3 separate regions of the Homo sapiens genome follow, and all the other regions are linked to region 2. Evidence: promoter capture Hi-C in 16 types of primary human blood cells and fetal thymus (Javierre and others, 2016). All regions are on one chromosome and are shown on one strand. The core of a region is centred on a gene start or on the middle of the fragment in contact, and the rest is flanking DNA. Distances in the headings are between cores, read along the strand shown.

Evidence for each region. Contacts are between HindIII fragments. The CHiCAGO score rates a contact against its expected background, and 5 or more counts as called.
Region 1: a fragment that was not itself captured here is called in contact with the fragment with the promoter of PGK2 in region 2 in 2 of 17 cell types (erythroblasts and megakaryocytes); the score reaches 16.4 in erythroblasts.
Region 3: a contact is called between the fragment with the promoter of CRISP2 here and the fragment with the promoter of PGK2 in region 2, in 4 of 17 cell types (erythroblasts, neutrophils, megakaryocytes and 1 more). The highest score is 13.2, in erythroblasts.

Annotation. Positions count from the first base shown.
Region 1 is chr6:49,687,666-49,691,995 of GRCh38, forward strand. It overlaps a transcript of CRISP2 not described here. Among named protein-coding and RNA genes, the nearest start is that of CRISP2, 24 kb to the right of the region's middle. The HindIII fragment of the contact is 2,571 bases long and covers 582-3,152 here.
Region 2 is chr6:49,785,498-49,789,704 of GRCh38, forward strand. PGK2 (phosphoglycerate kinase 2) reads right to left here and starts at 1,788. Exons shown (of 1, transcript NM_138733.5): 1 at 163-1,788. The coding sequence starts at 1,690. The coding sequence ends at 437. The HindIII fragment of the contact is 4,736 bases long and covers 1-3,876 here.
Region 3 is chr6:49,711,475-49,715,682 of GRCh38, forward strand. It overlaps CRISP2 (cysteine rich secretory protein 2), which reads right to left and starts at 2,069. Exons shown (of 10, transcript NM_003296.4): 1 at 2,001-2,069; 2 at 1,027-1,130. The HindIII fragment of the contact is 4,905 bases long and covers 319-4,208 here.

The sequences.
Region 1 (4,330 bases), core at 617-3,116, 98 kb before region 2:
CCATTTGGGTCAGTGTGAAGAGATACAGTAGGTTCAGACATGAGACTGTTAGAGATTTCCATCCTTGAGCCCTGGAGCCTTTAAGTTTCACGATCACACAACGTGGGTTTCTCCTCTCATGTACTCAGGGGCGAGGATCAGAAGTGAAATGAACCTTGCTTCAGTTCCACTGTGGTACCTCTGCTTTCTGGATTGGGGCAGGCTTGGGGGACAGTTACCCCTCCCCTGATGCAGCAGAGGCCTGGGATCTAAGCCGGATGGTTAAAGTCACATGGCGTAACAAATAAACAACAGTATTAGGCACACCTGTGTTCACAACTGGGGAAATACCAGCCCTTCCTTTGATATGCCGAGGGACTGATGTTCAAGTTTTGAGAAACTGTCTCAATCACTGGGCCATAGCTTGTTGCCATGGAGCTTTGAAGGAAGTCAGTCCCATCTCTGGGAGGTCAACCTGCAATGGATGAGTCCTAAGACAAGCAAAGTCTTACTGTTCACTCTTAGTTTTACATCTTTAAAACAAATTAACAAAACTATGGTTCTGAAAAATTAAGTGACATGCATATTTACAGTTGGAGAAAAGCTTGAACAGGATTCAGTTTTCCTTGTATTTAGAAAAGCGTGTTTGTTTTTGTGTTATGTGGTGCTTCTTCTGTTAATACTAGAAGACTTTAAGATAAGGATGTTTCTTTTTTATTTTTTAAGGCTAGTCAACTGGGAAATATACAGAATATAAATACAAATAAAATACAAAATAAAAATGCTTTTTTTTTCAATTAGGAAAATACATTAAAATATTATCTGCCACAAATGAGTCACTGGGCATTTACTAGCAACCTAGCTGGTAACTAATTGGGCTTTAAGGTACAGGCCAAAAAGCCATTATATTGTGATGAGAAAATATTCCGAAAACAGATCTTACTCTGTTAATGTTACCTGTTGAGTGGGGATTGCCTCTAAATTTTGTAGAAAATTTTGAATACCATTAATGTCTATGCTGAGAGCCTCTTTCCAAAATGACTGCTTTACATTACCTTATTTCCACAAAAATGCATTTTTGAATCTCATTACTTTCATTTAAAAAGTCTCATATTGATTAAGGTATTATTAGTTGAATTATTTGTAGCAGTTACATTATCTTTATAGTTTGCTCTGAGTAAACACTAGCTGTACACCCTAGATTATGATTTTCTCTTTTCTTTTCTTTTATTTTTTTGGGGGGGACTGAGTTTTATTCTCGTTGCCCAGGCTGGAGTGCAATGGCGCCGTCTCAGCTCACTGCTACCTCCACCTCCCGGGTTCAAGCGATTCTCCTGCCTCAGCCTCCTCCCAAGTAGCTGGGATTATAGGCACCTGCCATGACGTCCGGCAAATTTTTGTAGTTTTGGTAGAGATGAAGATTCACCATGTTGATCAGGCTGACCTGATCCTGACCTCAGGTGATCTGCCCTCCCTGGACTCCCAAAGTGCTGGGATTACAGCTGTGAGCCACTGTGCCCAGCCTGGATTATGAATTTCTGATGAAAGAAAATGACCATTCCTAAAGCATAATTTAAAACCACCACACATATTTAGACAGACCCTTTTATACTAGCATATTTAAAATTATATTACAGACATCAAAACATCCCAATCAACACCAAATTAATATATACCTCTAGTATGGTATTTATCATATTGGGCTATAATTACTTATGTTTTTATTATTTTCTTGCTTATATGTATTTTAATGCTATAAAATGGCACTGAGTTATTAATCTATTTTACTGGAATATAGCAGAGTCCTGGATGATAATAACATTGTTTATTAATCACTCATTATGTGCCAAGCAGTATTTTAAATAACTTACTACCTAAACAACTCAAAATATTACTAAAACTAATTAGTTTAATGAGATGACTGGATATAAAATAGGTATAAAAATTTCTTTTTTAAAAATAATAACAATAACGCTTTAATCATTAAAAATTTACTCCATAACTTTTACATTTTTAGGAATAAGTTTTATTAAAAAGAAACAAAATGTACATTAAATATTTTCTAATGTTTTCTAAGAACATAAAGTATACTCTGAGTAAATGGAGGAACTTATCACATTCTTAGATAGTATGGGTTAATCTAAGTTCTAATCAGAATCCCCCTCTCCTCACTATTCTTAACAAAAAGGTGATAAATTCACCCTCTTCCACATCACTCTTTCTTTCCAGAGAGAAACCAAGTTAGAGGACAGTGGGAGGGTTTTCAAAGCAGAAGACAAAAATGAGTATATTAAAAAAAATTCTCAGCTGTTTATAAGAGCATCTTCTATCTTTAAAATTTCTATATCTGCTTTATTGGAATTAATAAATATCAGTCAGCAATTTAAAGAGAACTTGCATTTGGAACATAGTTATGGATTTTCCTAATGTAAAATTCATATTGTTTGCTTATCAAAAAAGTTTTTAATATTCTGTACCCTTAGGTATCTTGTCTCCTATTTAGTCAATACCTGATTGAGAACAGAATTGATGATAAAGACATCTCCATTCATGTGGTAAATACTGAATGATAGCCTACCATATGTACACCACAGTGTGCATGCACTGCAAGCCATAGGAATAAATAGTCACAGGTTTCTCCTGGGGTAACTTAATATTTAATAGAGAAAGCACGTTTTCATGAAAGAAACCCAAACAAATCCTGTGTGATCCAAGAGGAAGGAGTAATTTCATATGAAACATTTGACTGAAATTAAAATTAAATACGATTCTGACCAGATTAAGTAAGAAAAACTAAGATAAACAAAAGCAAGGAAGTATGAAAAGAAATAGGCTGAGGCACAATCAAATGACAGAAATCAATGAATTATGGGAGCATGAATGTAGAAGGAAACACAGATTAATAGTTAATACATGACCAAATGAAGGAGGAACTTGAGTTAGCAATGATATCATAATGTTCACTGAAAATGTTCATTTTGGAAAAGATTCAGCAAAATCTATAAAATCAAATGTTTGTGGGTATTTGGAGTATTTCTGAAGACATTTTACTTTAGATTTGGACATTTTCGTTGGTTAAAAAGGTATATATCAAAATCGTCATTAACATTTTGAAAAATTAAATAACTATACAGTATCTAAGAATTTACTATTATTATTGTAGAATGAAGGTAAGCTTAGTGATACAAATTCAATTATATAAGACAAAACATACATTACACTAAAACAACTGTTCAGTTTAGTGGGAGAAAAAGTGTTTTGAGTGTAACTCTTAATTAGCAATTAAATTTTAAAGATTCTGGTATAGAGGGTTTTTTTTTTTAACCAGTCACTAGAGTTAGATAAATTTTAAGAATGCTATGAGAATAGCAAAGATTTTCCTACTACCTGAAAGTATTTATAAAGGTTATTTTTTAGTCACTTCTGTTAAGGACCAGATCAGATCTTCCACCCACAAAGCTAACTCTAATCTTAAAATTTTAAAGAAAACTCTGTATTTAAAACCTTTCAAATGCCACCCCAATAACGGAGTGCTTCATATGAGAACCACTCAAGTGGAATATTCTGTTTGCTTCTCTCTCACATTGTCACACTACCTCAGTGCTCTTGCAGTTACAAATATAAATATTCCTTTTCTCTCCTAAAATAGGCTTAAATATTTTAAAACATAGTTTGTAAGACACTTGAATTATTAAGATTAGGATGAAGAAACGCTCATCTTGTCAAAAAATCAATTTCCAAAGAAATTCTTGGGGAGCTATATATACAATGAATATATTCTATAATAGGCAATTTATCTTCTAGACACAGTTTAATTTTGATTTATTCTTGTAATTTGTTTCAAGTCTGTGTCAGGGTATGTTTTCCTTTTACTATATTGCTGATACATTTACTAAATGTTTGTTTAAAATTTTTTCATCTATGCTCATGATAGCGATAGATCTCTCTCTATATATTTTTTCCGTTGAAATGTCTTTAGTTTTAGTACTAAGATAATACTATCTTAAAGACTGAATTAAGAAGTATTTTCTCCCATGTAATTTTCTGGAAGAAACTGTAAAATTGCTATTAATTATTCTTTTAAGTATTTGACAGAATTATGTGGTGAAACCATTTGGGGGCCTAGAAATTTCCTTTTTGGAAGCTTTAAGATTATTAATTCAATTTCCTTAATGGTTATAGGATGATTCAGATAATCTGTTTAATTCTGTAGGCATTAGTAGCTCATGCTATTTCACCATCTGTCTAGCCAGATCTACTTTCTGGTTTTCAATAACCTTTCCACTTTTAAAAAAAGTTTTAGTATATGTTTTCTCATCTATAAGATGGGCTTACTTTACCCTGTCGTTAC
Region 2 (4,207 bases), core at 538-3,037:
GAGTTCTTTATATGTAATTATTTTTCTCAGTTTATTTGGGCATATTTATTGTTTGTTTGTCAACTTTCATTCCACCCTTTCCCAACAAATTAAGTTTTATCTTTTGGGTTTCAAATTATGAAACAATAGCAAAGTTGGACTAAAATAAAAAGATTCAGTTTCTTCAGCTCACTTTCTTTAATAGGCAACTTAAGAATATGTCCTCCCTAGATAGCACAATGGTGAAGTTCAAATGAGAACTTGAACAGGCAAATGCGTGACCAAACTAAAATGAATTGCTGTGCTGATATTAAGAGTTCCTGATGGCCTGCTGCTTGTCCATTACATAGGTCTTGATCTAGGAGTAGATTTTAACAAAAGTCACATCGAGATGTAAAAGCATTAAGCTGACTTAAGGGCCATGGACAGAAAACAGAAGGAAGTAACACTATATTAACTACATGTTGCTGAGGGCCTCTACTCCAGGAAGGATTTTACCTTCCAGAAGCTCTAGACTGGCACCGCCTCCAGTGCTGACATGGCTGACTTTATCTTCAGTGTTCCATTTGGCACAGCAAGTAGCAGTGTCTCCACCCCCTATAACAGTGATGCAGCCCTTGGAAGTGGCTTTCACAATTTCATCCATGAGGGCTTTGGTTCCCTTAGCAAAGGCATCCCATTCAAATACTCCTAACGGCCCATTCCAAACAATTAGCCTTGCTTGAGCCACAACTTGAGCATGATTCTTGTTGCTCTCAGGACCACAGTCCAAACCCATCCAGCCAGGAGATATGCCAGATGCTACAGTGGCTTTTCCAACCTGAGCGTTCTCGTCAAACTTGTCCCCAGTAACAAAATCAACAGGAAAAGTAATCCTTACACCATTCTTTTGTGCTTTGGCCATGATATCTTTAACGATCTTGGCTCCCTCTTCATCAAACAGGGAAGCACCAATCTCCATGTTGTTGAGTACCTTAAGGAAGGTATAAGCCATTCCACCACCAATAATCATCTCATTGACTTTGTCCAGCATATTTTTGATAAGTTGGATCTTGTCTGCCACTTTGGCTCCACCAAGTATAGCCAGAAAGGGTCTCACTGGGTTTTCCAAGGCTTTAGCAAAGTAATCTAGTTCCTTCTTCATCAAGAATCCGGATGCTTTATGGGGCAGATTCACTCCCACCATGGAACTATGAGCGCGGTGTGCAGTGCCAAAAGCATCATTGACATAGACGTCCCCTAGCTTGGAAAGTGATGCTCGGAAGGCTTCTATTTTATCTGGCTCAGCTTTAATCTTCTTTCCAGAGGGATCTTGGCCCTTCCCTTCTTCCTCCACATGAAAGCGCAGGTTCTCCAGCAGGATGACTGAACCAGGAGCTGGGTTGGCACAGGCTTTCTCCACTTCTGCGCCTACACAGTCCTTCAGGAACAGAACATCCTTGCCCAGCAAGGATTTGAGCTCAACAGCAACAGGTGCTAAGGAATATTTGTCAGGCATGGGAACACCATCAGGCCGACCTAGATGACTCATAAGAACTACTGCCTTGGCTCCATTGTCCAGGCAGTACTTGATGCTTGGGATGGAAGCCTTGATCCTCTGGTTGTTTGTAATCTGGTTCTTCTTCATGGGAACATTGAAGTCTACTCTCATGATGACTCGCTTCCCTCTAACATCCAGTTTGTCTAAAGTCAACTTCTTAGAAAGAGACATCTTGACAATATAAAGACATAGGCTGACACCTGGATCTTAATGCTGAAGAACCAACTTGCTGTTGAGGGGCTGGGTCGGTGGTGACTTCTAACGCCTTTGCCCTTGTCCCGCCCCTTTCTTCTCCTCACTGTCTCCAGCACAACGGCCACTGTTAGACTGGAAAGCAAATCTAGCTTTGTGATTGGCTCATGGTCCTGTCAATCTCGATCTGAACTGTGTTGCTAGGTGAAGATTCCAACTTCCTGGGCAGAGGGTCATGTAGTGGAATAGAGCTGTACCTGGCTTCAGGCGAGACTTGGGTAGGTGAAGAAACCCCAGAATAAGAATGGTTCTAAAAAAACAAGAATAGTCCTGAGGTGTGCGCCGCCTTCTGGCTCTTTTTGCCCCCACCCCACAGCTCGGTTAACAGTTGCTTTTATTATTAAAAACAAAACAAAAAGAACTCCACCCCCACCCCCGCAAACCTACATACACCTCATTCATGTCAAATCTTAACCATTTTGATATGTAAAAACCTCTGCAGTGCCAAATAAAAGGAATATTTGAAATAATGATTTTCATATGAAACCTTGCTTATTCAAGTCAGGATAGTATAGTTCTGTTTTTTCCTTGTCTTGATAAATATTTCTTTGAGGATGTGGCTTGTTGTTAGTCTTCATCTTTAGATCTATTCTGGGACGTGGTGGGAATGCTGTCATATTTTCATTACTTTGCTTCTTCCATTTTCAGACTACCATGAAAGAATGTTTGGTCACTTCTGCAGGAGAATCCCATAAGATCATAGCAAAGAGAGTATCAGTAACAAGTGCTGAAAGTAATGGTGACATTTCTTTCAGACTACAATGTTATGATGAGGCTCCTTATTTTTTGTCTCCTCTCTGTTTGCTTTCCTACCTGTACAACTTAGAAATTGAGCTGAAAAATAAATGCATGGTTTTCATGAAGATGAAAACATATATTAGAATTGAAAGTGAGTAAGATATTCTATTTTTGGAGAAAGCAAATGTATGTGGCTAGTTGGTTTAGTAATGAAAATTGGCTTTACAGTTTTTTTCATTCTACTCCATAAGTTGAGTGAACTAAATATGTAAAATGAAGGCTTTGACAGAAATATATTTGAGGCATCTCCTATTAAGATGGCTAAAATAAAAAATAAAAACAAGTGTTGAGAAAGAAGTGGACAAATTGGAATCCTCATTTATTGCTGATAGGAATGTCTAATGGTGCAGCCACTTTAAAAAACAGTTTATCGGTTCCTCAATGTTGAACATCGAGTCAACAGCATTTAAAAGCAAACTTAAATGGTGTTAAAATATATAGTAACAGAAACTCTCATTTGTTGCTCCCAGGAATGAAATATGCTACAGACATTTTGGGAAACAGCTTGGCAATTTCTTAGAAATATGCATAGACTTACCATACAAGTCATCAATCCTATTTCTAGATATTCATCCAAGGACATCAAAAACCTGTATTCTCTCAAACTTCTGTAAACAAACGTTTAGAGCAGTTTTATTAATAATTACCAAAATTGTATATTCTTCAAGTAATAAATAAATAAACTGTGATATATCCATGCAATGGAATATTATTTTTTAAAAAAAGAAAAGAAACAAGCTATTTACTTACACAAAAGCCCTGGATAAAACTTAAATGTGCCTTACTAACTGAAAGACGCCAGGCAAAAAAATTTTGTAGTTATTGTATAATTCCATTTGTATGACATTTGATAAAAGGCAAAACTATAGGGATGGAAAACATATCAGTGGTTGCTACAGGTTAAGAGAGCGTGGTCAACTATAATGGGGATACACAGGAGGATTTTTAGTGTGGTAAACTTTTCTATGAGGTACTGGAGTGGTGGATACAACATTCTATGCACTTGTCAAAATTCATAGAATCGTACGTTGTAGAGAGTAAACTTTAATGAATGCAAATAAAAAATATGATCCAGAGTGTTAGGGAATCGTATTATATAATGTAGCCTCTGACAGATAAGCCTAACTGTATCGTAATATATAGGAAATTTTACTACATGTGATGTGGAAATTTTACTACAGGTGATGTGGACAAAAAAAGGAAATGACTTAAGTAACTTTGCAAAAGAGGTTTTCAGTTTGTAAAACTAAAGACAAAAACAGCTGTCCATAAATATAATACTCTAGTTGGTAAGTTTGAATATCACAAGCTTATAGGTGAATAATTCTTAAACTATTTGTGTTATTAGAGATAAACAAATAATGGAAGATAATTAAAAGTTTCTCACCGTCAGGAAAATAAATTACAAATAAGCAAGGGCAGAATGAACTCTGTGGTGCTGGATTAAGAGTCTGAGATATCGGTATGAACTCATATTAAGTTCAATATACACATAGGTTGATATGGAAAATAATTACAGATATATGTGTATAAATATGTGTTAATTTTCTCTTGCTACTGAAGCAAGTTGTCACAAATTTAGCTACTTGAAATAACACAATTTTGTGTTCAAAAACAATTCTGTAGGTCAGAGATTCA
Region 3 (4,208 bases), core at 819-3,318, 74 kb before region 2:
GTCTGATAATGCTTTTGACATTATTTGCTTCCCACATAGTTTTTAACATGAGTAAGTAAATCATGCCCTCCCTTTCTAATCAGTTCTCCCTTCTCCTTAGGCACACGATAATCTGCATGTGGCCTTTTTGGACTAGTATTTCTATATTGACAACCCAAGACAGGTTAACTACTGTGAAGGTTACCAGGATTCTGCCTTATAGCTGAACTCTCATAGTTCAGCTGTCTATGATTTTTACTTTCTAATTATCAACTACCTGTAGCTTATTGGTTACGGGTGCATTCTTTGGAAACCATCAGGTCTGGGAAATCTATGCCAAGCTTCAGTGTTTTTCTTATGTAAAATGTAGATTTTTATATCACAGGTTTTTGCTTTGAAGACTGGAAGGGACAATGTATGTAACACCTCTAATACAATAAACACATTATGCACATAATACAAATAAACGGAAATTATTCATGTTTTTATTATCTTTTGCAATGTCTGCTAGTTTGTTGAGCTCATAAGAGCTTTCTATAAACATATGCTGTTTGATTGAATTGCTAATTACTAAGTGTTTAAGAGACATGTGTTTCCTTCCAGGTGTTATAGGAAAATACAATCAGTATAATCTAATTCGAGATTCACATGTTCAAGGCCTGGTTCTATTAGACACCTTCTGGCTGACTTTAGGAAAATGCTCTAACATCTGGGCTGTTGTATCCTCATCAGCTCATTGAAAGCCATACACAGGAGCCTGAAGAGTTTTGTATAGCTCAATCACCCAGTGTATGCATCTGATGAGCCAGAATTCTATAATAGGCCATGATGCCATACTCTCCTCTTTGCTGCTCTTCTCTCTCATAACCTCAACCATCTAACCTATACTCATCTTCATTGAGTCAATGAAAGCAATGTCACTGTTGGTGAGAGTATATTCAAGGAAAAATATTTTTTTCTATTCCATATAATTACATTTTATTCCTTTAAACCCATATTGATATATAGTTGAAAAGTTGGCTACCATTTTTTTTCTTTGCTACTTACTAATGGTGAAGTACTGTGCTCTTTCTTGCAGGTGTTTTAAGATCAGGATGACATGGTTTTCCTAGAGTGTCTTTAGGAGGGCCATGGTGTATAATTTTATAACCCTAGAACAAGGAAACAAAATATTTAAAATAAAGATGTGAAGAATACCCTTATAGATGGTATCTATAATCTTTGTCACAAACTTAAATTTTGACTCAATTGTTTAGTATTGTTTCTAATAATTTACTGTATTTATTTGATTTCAGCGTTAAGACCATATTGTCCTTCTGAGGTCAGATTGTATTTCAACGCCCTGATATTTCCTTCAAACACTAACAAAAAAGTGGACTTCTTGAAGTTCAGTAACTACTAGTTGGCTAACTTGCTTGGAAAATTGCAACCTTTTTTCAAGACTCCCAACCCCTTATCTAGGACTTCAACCCATTCTTTAAAAGATCATTTCCATAAGCAGTGTCCCACATGGTAAGTATTAACTACGTGGATTTGGGGGTAACAGCTTTGTCTCTTCATTTTTTTTTTAAATTCTGGAAGCCAATAGATGATATAAAGTCCAGCAGAGTCAATGACCCCAACTCTAATTGTTATTACAGTTTCTAATAACTGTACATTCAAAACATCAATTAGAAACTAAGAGTCTTAATTTGACTTCGTAAAAAGCAGATTGAGAAATGACTTCAGGCTTCTACTATGATTCAATGGGTCTTATGTACTTAGAATGATTTCTCTTTTAAGGTAGGTAAAGAGTTTCAATAGACTAAACATAGAGAAGCATGTTGAAAGTTATGGTAGGTCGGCGCTAAGCAACAAAATTGAACTCTCAGTCTGCCCGGCATTAGCTATGTGCCCTCCAGATGCCGGAAGAGGAGCGAAGGAGGATCAGAAACCCCCTCACCTCAACGATGGTTCTCTCCCCTGTGCTTCACCCCACCTCCCCGTCCCTAGCCATTTCTAGTCTCCAATCCGGGTCTTACATTTACCCTGGCTCCAGAGCACAGACCTTCCTGCAGTTGGGCCGGCGCGTTGCGGCGTTGAGGAGCTGCGGCGCGCCCCTCTCACCGCGATTGTTCACTTGCCAGGCGCCACGTGTGGGCGACGTCACTGGGCTTTATGCTTTCATCGCCGCTATCTGCCTACGTGAGCTGCTCTCCTCCCATCGCCCCCGCCTCCCCTACTACGGAGAAAATCTTGCACGTTTTCCCTTGTGAAAAGCAGAGTTCTCTTTTTCTCATTACCACCAGTTGATGAGGAAAGAAAATGTCTGTTCGCATACCTGCGCCGTACTAGGAGGAGGAGGGAGGTCATATAAGGATTCGGGTTGCCCAGGGGGTGGCTTGAAAAAGGAGGCGTTCGCATTCAAACAAGAATGCCTGAATTAATGTAGTTCAATTTAAAGAGCTAATTAGGAGTCCACAGGTGCTTAAGTTTGCAGTGCGCTGCCAGTGTCATGCCAACGACGCACTCCAGTTACACAGGTTGTCAGTTTCAGGCTCCCTCATAAACACTTCATGTTCTTGTCCCTCTTCCCCGTTGGCAACAGTTTTATGGTGAGAAAATTCACGAAGAGTAACAGGAACAACTCTTATGAAAATACGCAGAACTCCTGACCCAAGGCTACTGGCTGCAAGTTTAGCATACGTATCAAGCATGGGTTAAAGACATGTTTTCTCTCTCAGAAGGCGGATGAGTAATAGGTGCATTTTCTTCTATTCACAGTTGTTTTCAAAGCGAAAAGGAGTGAATTCGCTTATGACCTAGAGGAAGAGAGATGGGTCAAAAGATGTCAAGCCAAGGATTAATATCCGTCATACCTTGGTTCTCTGTAAGCCATGCAATAAGAGGCTTGAGATTTCACCAACTCTGGAGACTCACTTGGGCACAACTGAAACTATAACAAACTTGGTGCTCAGTGCCATTTTCCTTTGGCAGTGTTACAAGGTAATTTCAAGGGATCAGCACACAGACATTGTTTTAGTTTTCTTTTGCTGCTTATTTCAGTTCATGCAGCACTGACTAAAAATTTTGGAATTTAGACTGCTTAACGCTTATATCTACATCCAATATCAAAATTCATTACTGACAGTTTGCCTTTCTAAATATTTATGAAATCTAGTCCTCAATCTGTCCCTCACTTCTATATTCATGTTTTCACCATATCTTGCTTAAGTTATTAATTGGACATTTCAAATACCTATATGCACAAAATCTCTGCCTACCTATTTGTTCTTTCTTTCTAGTGCCGAACAATTCATTCTCAGCACTATAATAGTCTATCATTTACTGTGAATATCTTATTTTTCATTTTTGGAGAAGAGTCATTCCTGTAATTATTACTTGTTCCCATATTCACATTGATGATATCAGAATGAGAGCAACTTGAGCGCTGTGGTGCCAGATATTGTTGGTGAACCTGAATTTCAGAAATTGGCTATGTCTGTCTTGATTATTGCTGTATCTCCAAAACTAACACAATACCAAATATAGGTGGTAGTTTGTAAATATTTGTTAAGTGAGTAAATATTGACCCGACATAGATTCTTAGAAAATACAGAAAAAAGGACATAAAATCTCTTTCTTCTAAGACTCATAGTACTATGAGAGAAAGGAGTATGTATATGAATAAGTAAAGAATACTATTAGGTAGTGTAGTTTAATGCTAAGTAGGGCGACCAAAAATATATACAGTAATTGAGAGTTCTGTGAGTTGATATGATCTGGGTAAAACCTAGGAAAGTTTTGACATTTGAACTGTTATTGAATAATGCGTATGGCTTGATTTGAAGGGAGAAAGAGTTGAAGAACAAAAGCAGATAAATCATTATATCACAAGGCATATTCAAGACAGAAAGACTGTTGAAAAGGTTGGGGAAACTTTGTATAGAAGTCTAAGGAGATTTGCTTCTCTGTATAACATGGGAAAGTAATTTCATTGACATTTTGGAGGGTTGGGAAATTCTTTGATCAAAAGAATGTTTCATAAAAGCCACCTGATCTCACTGCATGGGGTGATTTACAGAGCTGAGAAATTGATGGCAGCAAAAATAAGTGTGGTAACAATTCCCCAGATTAATTTTGTAGTAGTAGAAATAGGACAAAAGGGTGGAATATGAAGAGATTTTTAAAAAGTGTTGATAGATTTTGTATGAAGGGCAAATCCAGAATAGAAGACTTGTAAGTTTGGT